Linked DNA regions of Homo sapiens: all the other regions are linked to region 1. Evidence: promoter capture Hi-C in 16 types of primary human blood cells and fetal thymus (Javierre and others, 2016). All regions are on one chromosome and are shown on one strand. Each heading gives the region's core, a stretch centred on a gene start or on the middle of the fragment in contact. The rest is flanking DNA. Distances are from core to core; before and after follow the strand shown. Region 1 holds the start of PLEKHA7 (pleckstrin homology domain containing A7). Region 2 overlaps PLEKHA7 (pleckstrin homology domain containing A7). Region 3 overlaps PLEKHA7 (pleckstrin homology domain containing A7).

Region 1 (4,554 bases), core at 2,041-4,540:
ATATGTATATGTTTTAAATGATAAAAAGATCAAACAGTATGAAAGGGGAAACAAGGTAAAGTAAATCTCGTACCATTCCTATTAGAGTTTCCCTCCTCAGAGGCAATCACTTTACCTGATTCTTGACAGTGTAGGGACTATATCTGTATGTTAACAGTAGCATATCACATGCACAGTACTGTAGCCTGCCTTTTCACTTTATTTATTTATTTATTTAGAGATGATGTCTTGCTCTGTCACCCAGAATAGAGTGTAGTGGCCCAATCATAGCTCATTGAAGCCTCAACTTCCAGGGCTCAAGTGATCCTCCCACCTCAGCCTCCCAAGTAGCTGTAACTATAGGTATGCGCCCCATGCCTGGCTAATGTATCTTTTGTAGAGATGGAGTTTTGCCATGTTGCCCAGGCTGGTCTTGAATTCCTGGACTCAAGCCATCCTCATGTTTCAGCCTCCCAAAGTACTGGGATTATAGGTACAAGCCACTGCATCTGGCCCATTTAATATCTTACAGACCATTCTATATCAGTACGTAGGGATCTATTCTCATTCTTTTTTACAGCTTGCATAGCATTCTGTTTTTGTTGTTGTTGTTGTTGAGGAATGTGCCAGTTTAATCAACCAGGTCTTTTTTGATAGACATTAAGGTTATTTCCAGTTCTTTGTAATTACTGACAATGCTGCAGTGAATACTCTAGTACACTGGAATTTGTGCCCCATGTAAGCACTAATGTAGGATAAATTCCTGACATGAAATTGCTAGGTCAAGACATTGAGGTTGGAATAGCTGTGCCAAATTGCCTTCGAAGAGGCTCAAACATTTTAAAGTCCCATCAACAATGAACAAGAATGTCTTTCTCTACAATATCTTTTCTTTCTTTCTTTTATGAGACAGAGTTTCACTCTGTCACCCAGGCTGGAGTGCAGTGGCGTGATCTCTGCTCACTGAAACCTCCACCTCTAGGGTTCAAGTGATTCTCCTGCCTCAGCCTCCCAAGTAGCTGGGATTACAGGCATGCACCACCATGCCCAGTTAATTTTTGTGTTTTTAGTAGAGACAAGGTTTCACCATGTTGGCCAGGCTGGTCTCGAATTGCTGATCTCAAGCGATCCACCCGCCTCAGCCTCCCAAAGTGCTGGGATTACAGGCGTGAGCCACCACGCCTGGCCAATATCTTTTCTAATTTATCTTTTCCAATCTGACATCTAAAAAAATAGTATTTCACCGTAAGTTGCAGTTCTTCTATTATGAAGTGGCTCAGTATCTTTTCATTTGCTTAAAAGTTATCTGTATTACTTTTCTATTAACTGTGGGTTCATACCCTTTGCCCATTTAATGTATTATTTAAAATCAATGTTTAGCTAGCAAAACACCGCTTTCCTATTTTCATTTGCTCAACAACCTCCTCAGAGGCAGGAGGTTCCTTCAGACAGGTGTCCCCCGTCCTCTGCAACCAGTTACCTCTTCTAACTCATAAATGCCTCCTTCCCCAACACCACTGTCTGTTCCCAAGGAAGGGCCCCTTTATGGTCTCATCAACATCTCACAGCCCTCCCAAAATTATGTGCATGCTCTCCCATCCCTCCCCTCTGGAGTGCTCTTTTCCCAGTCAAACCTAACCAGTCCTTCAGGGTCCAGCCTAATTCCACCTGTTTGGGCACCTTTCTGAATAACTAGTGCTCACATTGCATACAGTCTCACTTTCAGGCGCGCCTCCTCCCATCAATCAGAGCCTATGTCCCGAGAAGGCTGGGCCTGACAACAGCTGGAGCCCAGCTGCTGCTCTGTCTTTGCTCAGTGTGTGTGTGTGTGTGTGTGTGTGTGTGTGGCCGGGAGTCTGAGTGTGGAGTATGTTTCATTCACTCATCCTGCAGTTTTTTTTTTTAGACTGAGTCTCGCTGTTGCACAGGTTGCAGGGCAGCGGCGCGATCTCGGCTCACTGCAACCTCTGCCTCCCTGGTTCAAGCGATTTTCCCGCCTCAGCCTCCTGAGTAGCTGGGATTACAGGCGCCCGCCACCACGCCCGGCTAGCTTTTGTATTTTTTTGGTAGAGACGGGGTTTCACCATGTTGGCCAGGCTGGAATAGAACTCCTGACCTCAAGTGATTCACCCGCCTCGGCCTCCAAGAGTGCTGGGATTACAGGCCTGAGCCACCGTGCCCCACCCCATCCTACAGTTATTGAATGCGTAATGCATACATGAGTCAGGTGCTGTTCCAGGCATTGGAGACCAGGCAGTGTATGAGGTAGATCAAAGCCCCTTCTCTCATCCAGCTGACATGTTGGAACTAATATACAACAAACAAGACAAACACAAATATCAATTAAATGTAAACAAGTAATGAAATAGCGAGGGAAGGAGGGGAAGGATTTTCTTTGCAGAGGGCTCAGGGAGGGCTCCCCGAGGAGATAAGATAGGAGTAAAGACCCGAATATGAGAGGGTGCCGCCACTGCAAAGAGCTTTGCAGGGCCCCCTAGAGGCCCCGCCTGGCCACCGCTCTTCCAGAGATGGACGTGCTGCCGAGCCCTCAAAACCCCTTTTTTCTGTTACTTGACAGAAACTGAAGGCAAGAGCTTGCGATCCCTGCAACCTCAGTGGTGTGTGGCGGTAACCCTGCTCCCTCCTGTTTCACATCCCAGCTGAAAACTTGGGAAAATGAAATCGCGCTCGGCCTGCCGTTGATAGAGCACCTACTACATGCCATGGTCCGGTTAAGCACTTTATGCGATTGTTACTTCATTTAATCTACACAACAATCCCGTGTGGACTCGATTAACCTTACAGGGGAAGAGAAGGAGGCTGGGAATATGGCAGGAACCTGAGTGTTAACTTGGTTCACACACAAGCGGAGTTCCCGGGTCGGGAAGTTCTGTGGTGCGGGTCGGCTGGGGTTTACTGAGCGTTCGGGCGCTCGCCGTTTTCGGAGTTGGTCGGGTCCAACCGCGCGCCCCGAAGCTGCCCAGGCGCGCCCGCCAGCGGCCCCCGCCAGCGGCCCCCCGCGCCGCCCGGGTCTCCCGGCCTCGGGGGCAAAGGGGAGCGCCGGTGCCAGCAGGCTGGGGGCGGGGAAGGCTCGGGGACAAAGGCCGCGGGCACTGCGCTGGGTTGGCCGGAGCGGCTGCGAACTCCGGGCGCCAGGACCCGGCCGGGCGGTCGCTCCCTCAGGAGCCCGCGCCTGGATGGAGCGCCTCGCGGCGCCGCCGGGCCACGCGCAGGCCGAGCCCCCGCCACCGCCCCCGCCTCCGCCCCTGCCCGCGCCCCCGCCCCCTCCCCCCCACCCCGCGGCGGCTCCGCGCTCGGCGAACATGGCGGCGGCGACGGTCGGGCGGGACACTTTACCTGAGCATTGGTCCTACGGGGTGTGCCGGGATGGCCGCGTCTTCTTCATCAAGTGCGGCGCGAGGACCCGGGGACGCGGGGACGCGGGTGGGGGCGCGGGGGCGGGGGCCGGGCGGGCACCCGGCGGGCTGTGGCGGCGCTAACAGGTGCACCTCTCTGCCCGCAGTGACCAGCTCCGCTGCACGACCTGGCTGCATCCGCGCACCGGGGAGCCCGTCAACTCGGGCCACATGATCCGCTCAGGTGGGCGCCGGGCCGGCGGGTGGGGGGCGCGCGCAGCGGCGGCCCAAGTTTGACCCGACTTTTCTGGCGTTTCCGCAGACCTGCCCCGCGGCTGGGAGGAGGGCTTCACGGAGGAGGGCGCCAGCTACTTCATCGAGTGAGTGAGTGGGGCCGCCGCGCTCGCACCTGTGCCGCGGGGGGGGGGTCCCTCCCCGTTCCCGCCGGGCGCCCCGCCCTTCCTCTGCTCCCGCCGGCCCGGGCTCGTTGGCGCGCGCTGCGCCGCGGCCACACTCAACGTTTTGTGTGCCCAAGTTGTTTGGCGGCCTCCGAGAGGAAGGCGGTGGGGGCCGCACCTACGCTGGGGACCTGGGCCGGGGGGGAAGAGGCCGCAGACTCTGCGCCCTGGACCTTGCAATCCGGCTGGATTCGGGTGCTGGTGTGCGGGCTGGGCACGCCTCCCCTCTAGGGTCTGGGGCTGCGCCCCGCCGGGAGAGGCGAGTGCCGGGACCTGGATGGGCTCGGGTGGGAGGAGTAGAACGAGAAGTTCTGTCCTGGTGTGGGCCTGCGGGGTTGGAGTGGGGAGAGGGAGAGACTAGGGGAATCTCGCTTAGGAGGACGCCCCCTCTCCCGCCGCAGGCTCTGGGATGGTCTTGGAGAGTCGGAACCTCGCCCCCGGCCTCCATCCACTGCGCGGGCCTGCGGGGAGGGAGGGGGTGGGGAAGGGAACTGGTCAACCAATGACTTTCCTCGAGCGCTCCGCGTCTCTTCGGCCGGAGCTGAACCGGGGGATTGCTGGTGCTTCCGTTAGTCCACGGGCGACTTTTCCGCAAAAGCCCCGGAGTGTTGGCGCACCAGCCAGGTTACCCTGGGTCTGTAGGATCAGTCCATGTCAGATTGGGGCGCAGTAAGTGAAGGCGCGGGTCAGGCTCCTATGCCAGTACAGGCTTTGCTTTCCCACTCCGGCGGGAGTCTGTGTTGCAGCGTGTTTCCCTCTGC
Region 2 (4,313 bases), core at 1,592-4,091, 200 kb after region 1:
TATTAGAGATGAGGAAACTGAGGCTCAGAGAAGTTGAATGACTTGCTTAGGGTCACCTGGCTGTCACTGGGTCCCCAGTGAAGGGGAAGAGCGTATCAGGGAAATGTAGGGGAATATTAGGCTTATCTCCTCTTTCAAGATGAATTTTGCCAGAAACATTTTTCAGCTACCCACCTTTTTCCACAGGCAGTGCCTCTCCTTTCTTCCCTGATCTTTGATTAGTTAACTAGTTAACTCAATCTTCAAAGCTCGAGTCTGAGACCAGGTGTGGTTGTTCATACTTGTAATCCTACCACTTTGGGAGGCCGAGGTGGGTGGATCATTTGAGGCCAGGAGTTCAAGACCAGCCTAGCAAACATGGCGAAACCCCGTCTCTACTAAAAATACAAAAACTATCTGGGTGTGGTGGTACACTCCTGTGATCCCAGCTATTCGGAAGGCTGAGATACGAGAACTCAGGAGGTGGAGTTTGCAGTGAGCCGAGATCACGCTGCTGCACTCCAGCCTGGGTGACAAAGCAAGACTGTCTCAAAGCAGAAGAAAAAAAAAGCTTGAGTCTGGGTGAGGTTGCACTGTTGGTTGTTGCTTTCCTGAAAAAAACTTCCTGAAGCCCTTTTACTGCCAGTGCCTTTATTTGTCCTAATGACAGAATTGACACAGTAATTGCTTAACGGTGTCACATCAGTGCTGTCCTGGCACTGACACCGGGGTGAAGAGCGTAATTCTAGCAGTGTGCTCCTGCGGTGCTAACTTCCTTGTGCTGTGTCTACACATCTGCAGCTGGAGGAGCTCTCGTTGCTTCTCACCCGGTTAAGGCGGCACCAGGCCAAGTTGGCCAGTGTGCGAAATTTCGCCATCAGCCAGTTACTGCAGCACCAGCTGACCTTTCCCACCTGCCAGGTCAGCACTGGTGGGCTCCTCTCAGGGCCGGGGGCAGGGAGTGACATGCTGGCTCGCGTTCGCTCGTGCCCATGCTCTGGTCTGTCTGTGCTTTCTGGCTCTCGCGTGTTCGCTGCCTGTTTGCTTCTGGATGCTACTGCCAGACACTCTGTGGTGGTGGAAGCTGAGCCTACCCTTCTGGCACTGGGGAGGGGGGCTGCATGTGGTGTAGGGGCCCTAAACTGTCGCTTCTCTGGCTGTAAGTAGTGACTGCCAGGCTGGTGTATGGTCATGTTCAAAGGGCTGTGCTGGCTGACAGCCTTGTTGCCCCCGTGGCCACTGCTTGGGATGTGGAAAGGCACATATGCGTCAGCCTGGAGGGAGATGCAGGGCGCCCTCTCTTATCTGGATGGTGCCCTGCTGCCTCACAGAGTGTCTTCTCATCTCATATCTTGCTGAACCTCACAGTAAGCTGGAAGAGGTTAGGTAGGAGAGGAGTAAGGATCACACACAAGGCAAGTGGAACCAGAAGGGGAAGTGACTTGCTCAGGATCCCTCAGCTAGAAGCATGCAGGCTGCAGCCAAAATCCAAGGCCTGCATGACACAATGTTCTAAACTGTTGCAAGAACGTTGGGCTTTGCAGGCAAGCTTCTCAAGGACTGGCTAGGGGGCTGCCCTCCCGGGTATCTTGAGCAGAAGGATTAAAGAAAAGGATCCCTCCCTGGGGTTGTCCTCAGGCAAAAATAGGTTCAGCCAACGAGGCTGGTCCTCCAGGCTGTACAGAGGTAGGCAGGGGACAGATGAGGAAGGTGACAGGACTGTTACCTTCCTTCCTTGTTCTGTTTTAGTGAGTTTTGAGAGATTTAGGAAATGTATTCAGAAAAATGAATGTCAGTGAAAAACTATCATCAGTTGTGAATCTAAGTGATCTTGAATAACCTTCTTCTGTTCTGTCTTACTCCTATGGCAAGTGTGTAGGGACTGAGCTGTTTGGGAAGTATAGATGGGTAAGAAGTTAGTTTAGGGACACAAGACCTTGCAAGCCACTAGTGCCCCTGACAGTTGTCCTTCAGGCATTCCCATGCATAAGAGCCCTGCCTCAACTCTTCGTGTGGTTTGTCTGTGTGACTGTCTTACCTCAGAGCTGTAAGCAAAGGCCACCTGCCTCGGCCCTAGCTTGCTTGGCTGTGACCCTCTTAGTCTGCTGAGAAGATGGTGCCTGGATTATTTTTCTTTCACAGCTTTCACAGCTCCTCTGCCTCACAGTTAGCTTCTGTGATCTGCTACACGGGAAAGCATGAGTTTTGGGAAATCAAAGAGTCTTTTTCTTATTTTCACTGTTTCTGGTAATTATACTGAAGAACTTGATAGATTGTCAGAGATGCCACAAGCAGATAGGTCTGACCTTGCACCTGCCTCAGGTAGCTCCTGACATGGCTACATTGGCTCCATGGTGAGCAAAAAGAACCAAACTTGCAGGAAATTTCCAGCAGTTGCTGGTGGTTATCATTCTGGAAACCAAGGTCGTATTGGGACCTCCTGGGTCACCCAGGCCATCTCCCTGCCTCTTCAAGGCATCCACCCACACCAGTGAGCTTCATCTTCATGCATGTGAAGTGATCCAGACCAAAGGTTTGATGGATGGAATTGGAGTGATGATGACTGATGCGCTCTAGCTCAGGTGTGGCATATGCTCCTCCAGGTGGACCTCCCAGGTCTATCTTGGGAGCACAGCACTGCCTCAGCTACCCTAGCCCTGGGGTAGGATCCTCCCTGCCAAACTCTTCCCCTAGCCAGTGGGGGACAAGCTGACTTTCCCCACAGTGACCTGCAAGATCCGCCCTGCTGAAAGACGGCTCTCAGCTGCACCGAGACATTTGTGCTTCCTCTGTGGCCCCTGATGTGTTGGTCTGCTGTGGTTCCTTGTTCCCAAAGCTGCACGATGTAAATAATTCACATGTGAAACCTCGAGTTATGGAAACTCTTGGTGTTCATAACTGTGTTTTTTCCTCTCTGCTTCATTTGAAGGCTGATGATACCTACCTCCAGCTGAAGAAAGACCTGGAGTACCTGGATCTAAAGGTAAGTGACATCAGGGTTCCTGCCTTCCTTGCATACTCACCTTTCTGAGAGTGTCACCTCACTGGAGCCAAGCCCAAAGCCAAAGGCCAGACAGGTCTTATCCAATCTGAATTCTAAATCAATATGTCTCCCATCTTGAATCAGAAGAACTTTATTTCTTACAGACTAAAACTCTGCCTTTTTTCAGTTTCTTGTGAATTTTGTTGTGAGGTCCCTGGCTTACAGAATGAGGGCTTGAGACCTTGATCTCTTCCTTCTCTTGGTCAGAACAAAAAGGTCCCTCCAAAAGCAACCAGTCGCTTCTTCGGAGTCTCCAGTGGGGGCAGGGGTGTATGTTTGGTTCACTAATGTGGGTTTTCAGCCACAAGTGGTGTGGTGGGTTCTTTGGTTCTGTTGCTAGGGGAGCAGGCTCCACATGGAATCGCATGGCTTTGAGGCTCACCGGTAGTCTCCCATCTCGGTTTAGGAGGTGAAGGCTGGGCCCCTCCCTGTAGGTGATAAGGCTTCAGGCTCTAAATTAGCTTTCTCAGCACAGAGAGAGCCAAGAAAGCTCCTGTAGAGAAGGCAGGAGGCATTCTGCCTGGAAGAGAGGCCTATTGTTCCCTGCCCACAGTCCTCTGAAAGCTCCTACTGTGAAAAGCACTTCTTACGCCTGAGCCATGAAATAGACTGGAGGAATGTGACCTTTAGTCAGCTGTGGGTCTGAAAAGGTGGGTGAGGGGCCATGGGACACTCAGGTGACTGCCACGAGGGGTGGCGTGCCTCCCTACAGTCTCCAGTGTACCTGGCTTGGGATATTTTTAACTTGGGGATCTTCATCCAGCCTCATAGAAGCAGGTGTATGAACATCAGGTCCTAAGGAAGAAGATGGAAAGGGGGTCTCCCCACAATGAAAGGAGATCAGGGCTTTTGATTAGAAATCAACCAGTGCAATTCTGTGTCTGTTGAACACTTGCTGTGTTACCCAGATGACATGGGGAGATGCAGAAAAAAATTTGAGTCTGTCTGGTCTTGAGATACTTCCAGATAGTCTTGGGTTGGTGAAAGAAATTATCCCCAAATAACAGACTCCTCTACAATGACTAGACAAAGATCTGTTTGGCCTGGTTCTCAGAGCTGAGATGGTGAGAATCTCTGTGGGTTACAACACTGGAGAGGCTTCTGGGAGGAGGTGGCATGTGTTTGAAGCTTTGAAGAGCCAGGGGTGCTGGGGCTGGTTGAGATTTAAAGGGAAGGATCAGTGAGAGCCAAGGAGAGCCAGGGCACAGTGGTTGTGGCCAGGGCAGCAGAGGGGAGGTGGCACTAGGTCATGCAGGCTGTTGACTCTATCCTAGGCTTTAGGAAGGAAGGT
Region 3 (4,734 bases), core at 1,007-3,506, 230 kb after region 1:
GCCTTGTGCCTTCACAATTCACCCAGTACCATTTCTCCCCCAGTGCAGAGGCCACTGTGTGTCTGGGTGGTGCTCCTGGCCAGGTGTGCTTCTTCTGGGGAGGGAACAGCCATAGAGCCTGAAGTGGTGTCATGGCCCCTACCAATTCTCCAACCCTGGCCAAAGTGTCTAGAAGTAGCCAAGGATGTGGCCGGCAGGGTCCTCAGATGCCTGGGCCTGGGGAGTCTTGTCTGGAGATCAGAGCTTTGCTGTGGCCCCAGAGGGCCATGAGAGTGACTGGCAACAAGGGGAGGGGCCATAGTCTTAGTCAAAACCTGTTCTCTGTCCCCCACAGCCTGATCCTGCACAGAGTCCTTGAAATCTTGGCTGTCCTCTGTCCCTTCGAGCACATGCTGAATGGGCTGAGAGGTGGCCGGTGTGGTGTTCTGGGATTAGGGATGCAGGAGATGGCTCATCCAGACCTCTCCTTCTCATGACCCAGGGGTTCATCTTAGCAGCTTTTGAGCTTCTCCTGGGGAGGGTTCGAGCAGGGGCGGCTCCCCCACCATACCATGCCCTCCTCTCGCCTTGCTTGCTCTAACCCTGAGGGGGTCTGCCATCCTCGGCCTCCTTATTGCCAGCAGATGAGCGCTCCCAGCCCTAACATGCTGCGGCCAGTTCCCAGGGCCTTTCTTCCTCCCTACTCAGGGATGATCTTTGCTGCGGCCTTTCCTCACTCTTGATGCCTCTCTCCATCTCAGAAACATATCCAGGAACTGCAGCCTGACCCATCCGGTTCCCCACCAGGCCCCGTGGATCTGTCCCTCACCCTCAAGCCCAGGCCCTTCGTGGTGGGCAGCAGGGCCCATGCCACCCCAGCCTGCCAAATGGGGCATCTGGTGCTGCAGGAGCTGATGAGGAGTCTAACACACCGCTTAATTCCTGTGTGCCCCATCTAGCACAGCAGCTGGCCCTCCTCCCGCCTAAAGGCCCCCTGTCTTCCAGGACGGTGCCACCTTACCCCCCTTTTACCAACGGACTCCACTACACCTTTGTCTAACACCTTCCAAGTAAGAGCCCCTGTCTGGTGTGCTTCTGCCTGCTTCCTGCACCTCCCTAGCGCTGAGCCCCTCACCTCCCTGCTGTGCTGAGGTGATTGCAGTGCCACCTGCTGATGCCTCCTTCCACTGGCAAAGCGGCCGCTGGCGGGACTGTTCTGACTGGTAGGCAGGTGGGAAAGTGATGCTTTTTAGGAACTCAATCCTCAGTGGCTCTAATACGATAGGGACTGAGCAATCCACCCTGCTGCCTCCATGAAATCTCTAGAACCGGAACTGTGCCCCCATCCCCTGCTCTCCTCAGTAGGGCACCCTGATGCCCGAGAACCAGTGCAGACCACACTGCCAGCCTTGGGGGGCTGGAAAGGAAGAGTTAGATCTTGGCCTTTCAGGGCTTTGGCCAAAGAAATTGAAGAACTGTAAGATTGGGAAAAGTCCAGTTCTACAGATGAGGAAACTGAGGCCCAGTGAGGGGCTGGGGCTCACTCCAGGTCACAAAGAATTGGTGTCAGCGCAGAGACTGGGACTGCCCTTTTGGTCACTGGGCACTTTAAGAGGGAGAGAAAGGGAAGCCCAGGGCAATGTGAAATTGGCCCTCAGCCAGGCAGAAAGCTCTGGCACCAACCCTACCAAGTTCTCCCCATGTGGGCATCTAGTGATGAGAGGCAGTGTGGGATGAGGAGGGAGCCCTGAAACAGGAGGCTGGCATCTGGTCCAGTCTCAAGTGAGTTCTTGGCCTGGGCCTGTTGCTTTTGAGCCCAGCGGTTCACCTGGACAGGGGAAGGTCAGACTACCAGTCTGGGCAGTCCTTACCCTGACATCCCATCCCACTATCATTTTGCAGGGCTTTCCCCTCTCCTTCCTTTACGTATACTTGTGGTTAACATTGTTGAGTGCCTGCTGTGTGCCAGGCATTGTGCTAAGTATCTCTTTCGATCCACACAACAACCCTATGAAGATATTCCCCCCCCCCTCCCCGTTTTAGAGATGAAAAAACAAAAGCTCAGAGGCCTTGAGGGATATGCGCAAGGAATCGCAGCTTGTTAAGTGCTGGGGTTTGAACCCCTTTGATGTGAGTTCAGAGCCTTTGTTCCCCATCACCACTCATGGGTTCATCTGGGCCGCCCCGAGCAGCTCTAGGTGTTTGGAGAAAGAAGTGAAAGGAGGGAGAGAGTATTTGTGCTGCAGGGAGCGAAGCATGATTTTTTGGCAGGTGTCTATCCTGGGTGCTCCCCGTGCCTCACAGCAGAGTCAGCAGGTCCCCGCCAGCCTGAGCATGAGAGGAAGAGGTCAGCCTCCTTGGGCCAGGCTCTGAGGAGGTGTGGAGTAGAGGCCCCGTGGTTGAGGAGCCATAGGGAAGTGCTCTAGCCACGCCCATTGTGAAGGCCACATTTGAGGGTGTGGCTTTCTCCTAGAGATCTGAGCACAGTAACAGCGCTCAGTCACAGAGAGGCAGGAGAGAGGTTCTGTTCCTCCTGGGTTTTGGTGCCCCCATGGCTGTAAGATTGGCCTATTATACTCTTTGGAGTACTGCATTTCTTCTTACTCTCAAAGCATCCTTGTTAAGAAGTGGGTATGACCACCATGTTTTTTAGGTTAGAAAAACAAGGCCCACAGAGGCCAAGAGCGCTACCCACATTGAAAGAATGAAGGGCAGGGCCAGACTGCACCTTTATTAGAGTCTTTGCCCTGTCGGGATGGGGACCCAATTTAGGGGCCAGCATGTGTCTAGCAGTGGAATAGGGGTGCAGGGAGGGTGGGGCAAGAGCCCCATGTGTCCTGGAAGCTGAGGGTCCCCCAGCAGCGGCCGCATTGCCAGAGCCCCCTGCTCTGCTGCTCTGCCTGTCCGCCTATCTGCCATTCCATCATGTGTGTGCAGACGTGCCTGCTCCCTGGATGCCAGCCTCTCACTGTCTCCTGTGCTTTTTGCCAGCCCAGGCAGTGACTGACCCGTGACCCAGCATGCAAAGAAGCCTGGAGCCAGGGGCCCAGTGGAACCAGCTTCCTCCAAGGAGATGACCTTTCTGCCCCCAAGGAAACCCCTTCCAGCTGAGCAGGGAATCCGGCCGGAGGAAGGAGCAGCTTACCGACTGCGGGTGTTCACCACAGGCCAGGCCCTAATATGCACCCACTAGTTTAGCTCAGACTCCTCTCTACATATGAATGGCAAAGGCACTTTTGATATACACTGTAAAATACACTGTATTTTAGAATCGGAATCTATTTTCTAATGTTCCCCTCAAGGGCTGAGTGGCAGGAAGGTTGAGGATGCAGGACTTTGCAGCTGCACGTACAGATTCAGGTACTTCTGGGTGACAGGTGTTGTGGGGGCAGGAAGGGCGGGGCAAGCCGAGGCTAGTCCAACTTCCAATGACCTCAGGAGAAAGTGAGATTTAAAGAGGTGTTCCCAGTAGACTCCAGCAAGAGGCTGGTTGGCGTGCTGTCTGGGAGAAGAGGGGCCCTTGGCTGCAGAGATCAGCTGTCCCTGACCTGATGACCAGCTCTGTGTGAAACTCCACGAGGATCACACGTGGAGCCCAAGTCTGTGCCTTGCCCCTTGGGTTTGGCTTAGGGGCAACAGTGTGTTCAAGAGGACTGGGGCCCACAACCTGCCCCCAGGCTTCCTCCAGCAAAAGGCTCTTGTCAGAAAGAAAAAAGCAGTTTGCTATCTTTTTTTTTTTTTGAGATGGAGTTTCACTCTTGTTGCCCAGGCTGGAGTGCAATGGCACGATCTCGGTTCACTGCAACCTCTGCCTCCTGGGTTCAAGTGATTCTCCTGCCTCAGCCTCCCAAGTAGCTAGGATTACAGGCATGTGCCACCACGCCCGGCTAATTTTGTATTTTTAGTAGAGACGGGGGTTTCTTCATGTTGGTGAGGTTGGTCTCGAACTCCTGACCTCAGGTGATTCATCCGCTTCAGCATCCCAAAGTGTTGGGATTACAGCCGTGAGCCACCACGCCCAGCCTGCTTTCATTTTTAACAGTACACATTGAAATACAGAAAAGGTGAGAGGAAGCAACTTTCATTGTATCGTAGCAATAAACTCCACACTGGGTGACATCTACCTAGAAATCCCTTCCCTCTAACCAGGCCATGATGGGAACCTTTGCTGCCTGCCCTTGGAGAACCCCGGATTGGCTTCCCTGGGACTCAGGTCTGGTGGCAGGAGGGCAGCAGTGTGCCCCCACCATCCCTCATGGCCTGCCGCCAGCAGGGCCATAATGGCAGGACTTTGATTTGACTTCCAGCCCCACATGAGGAGGGGGGCTACCAAGCCAGGTGCAGTGTTTGTGGCCCTTTATTTAAGTTGTTTTCTTATATTATTCTGCATATAAACAATGACGTTTAAATGGAAAAAACAACAACAACGAAAACCTCCATTGGGTGGAGCCACACTTTAAATGAAAATTTCTCTTTGACTATGCTCAGAAAAAAAAATAGAATTTTGAATATATCTAGCAGTTGTTGTCTATTTTTAACTAACTCCATATGCTGCCAGTATCGACTTCATGACATTTGCCAAAATAAAATTTTATTTTTGCCTTTATAAGATTTTCTTGGAAAAAATGAAATGAATATTTTGCAAGAAAAAGTTAATTTAAAAATGTAATGGTTTGCAAAAAAAATGTGATGTACAGATTAAAATATTAACCTGATACGTTTCCTGTTTCTTGCTGGCTATAGTCTCTGGTGAGT

Evidence for each region. The method cuts DNA at HindIII sites, captures the fragments that hold promoters and counts their contacts. A CHiCAGO score of 5 or more calls a contact.
Region 2: a fragment that was not itself captured here is called in contact with the fragment with the promoter of PLEKHA7 in region 1 in 1 of 17 cell types (megakaryocytes); the score reaches 5.1 in megakaryocytes.
Region 3: a contact is called between a fragment that was not itself captured here and the fragment with the promoter of PLEKHA7 in region 1, in 2 of 17 cell types (erythroblasts and megakaryocytes). The highest score is 5.9, in erythroblasts.

The regions. Positions count from the first base shown.
Region 1 is chr11:17,013,150-17,017,703 of GRCh38, reverse strand. PLEKHA7 (pleckstrin homology domain containing A7) reads left to right here and starts at 3,290. Exons shown (of 27, transcript NM_001329630.2): 1 at 3,290-3,388; 2 at 3,503-3,579; 3 at 3,658-3,715. The coding sequence starts at 3,303. The HindIII fragment of the contact is 14,877 bases long and covers 1-4,554 here.
Region 2 is chr11:16,811,762-16,816,074 of GRCh38, reverse strand. PLEKHA7 (pleckstrin homology domain containing A7) reads left to right here. Exons shown (of 27, transcript NM_001329630.2): 13 at 2,909-2,962. Among named protein-coding and RNA genes, the nearest start is that of C11orf58, 75 kb to the right of the region's middle. RefSeq lists an enhancer at 517-1,017. The HindIII fragment of the contact is 2,622 bases long and covers 1,531-4,152 here.
Region 3 is chr11:16,777,257-16,781,990 of GRCh38, reverse strand. PLEKHA7 (pleckstrin homology domain containing A7) reads left to right here. Exons shown (of 27, transcript NM_001329630.2): 27 at 2,971-4,694. The coding sequence ends at 2,993. Among named protein-coding and RNA genes, the nearest start is that of C11orf58, 41 kb to the right of the region's middle. RefSeq lists enhancers at 11-704, 705-1,399, 1,795-2,517, 2,518-3,241. The HindIII fragment of the contact is 9,770 bases long and covers 1-4,734 here.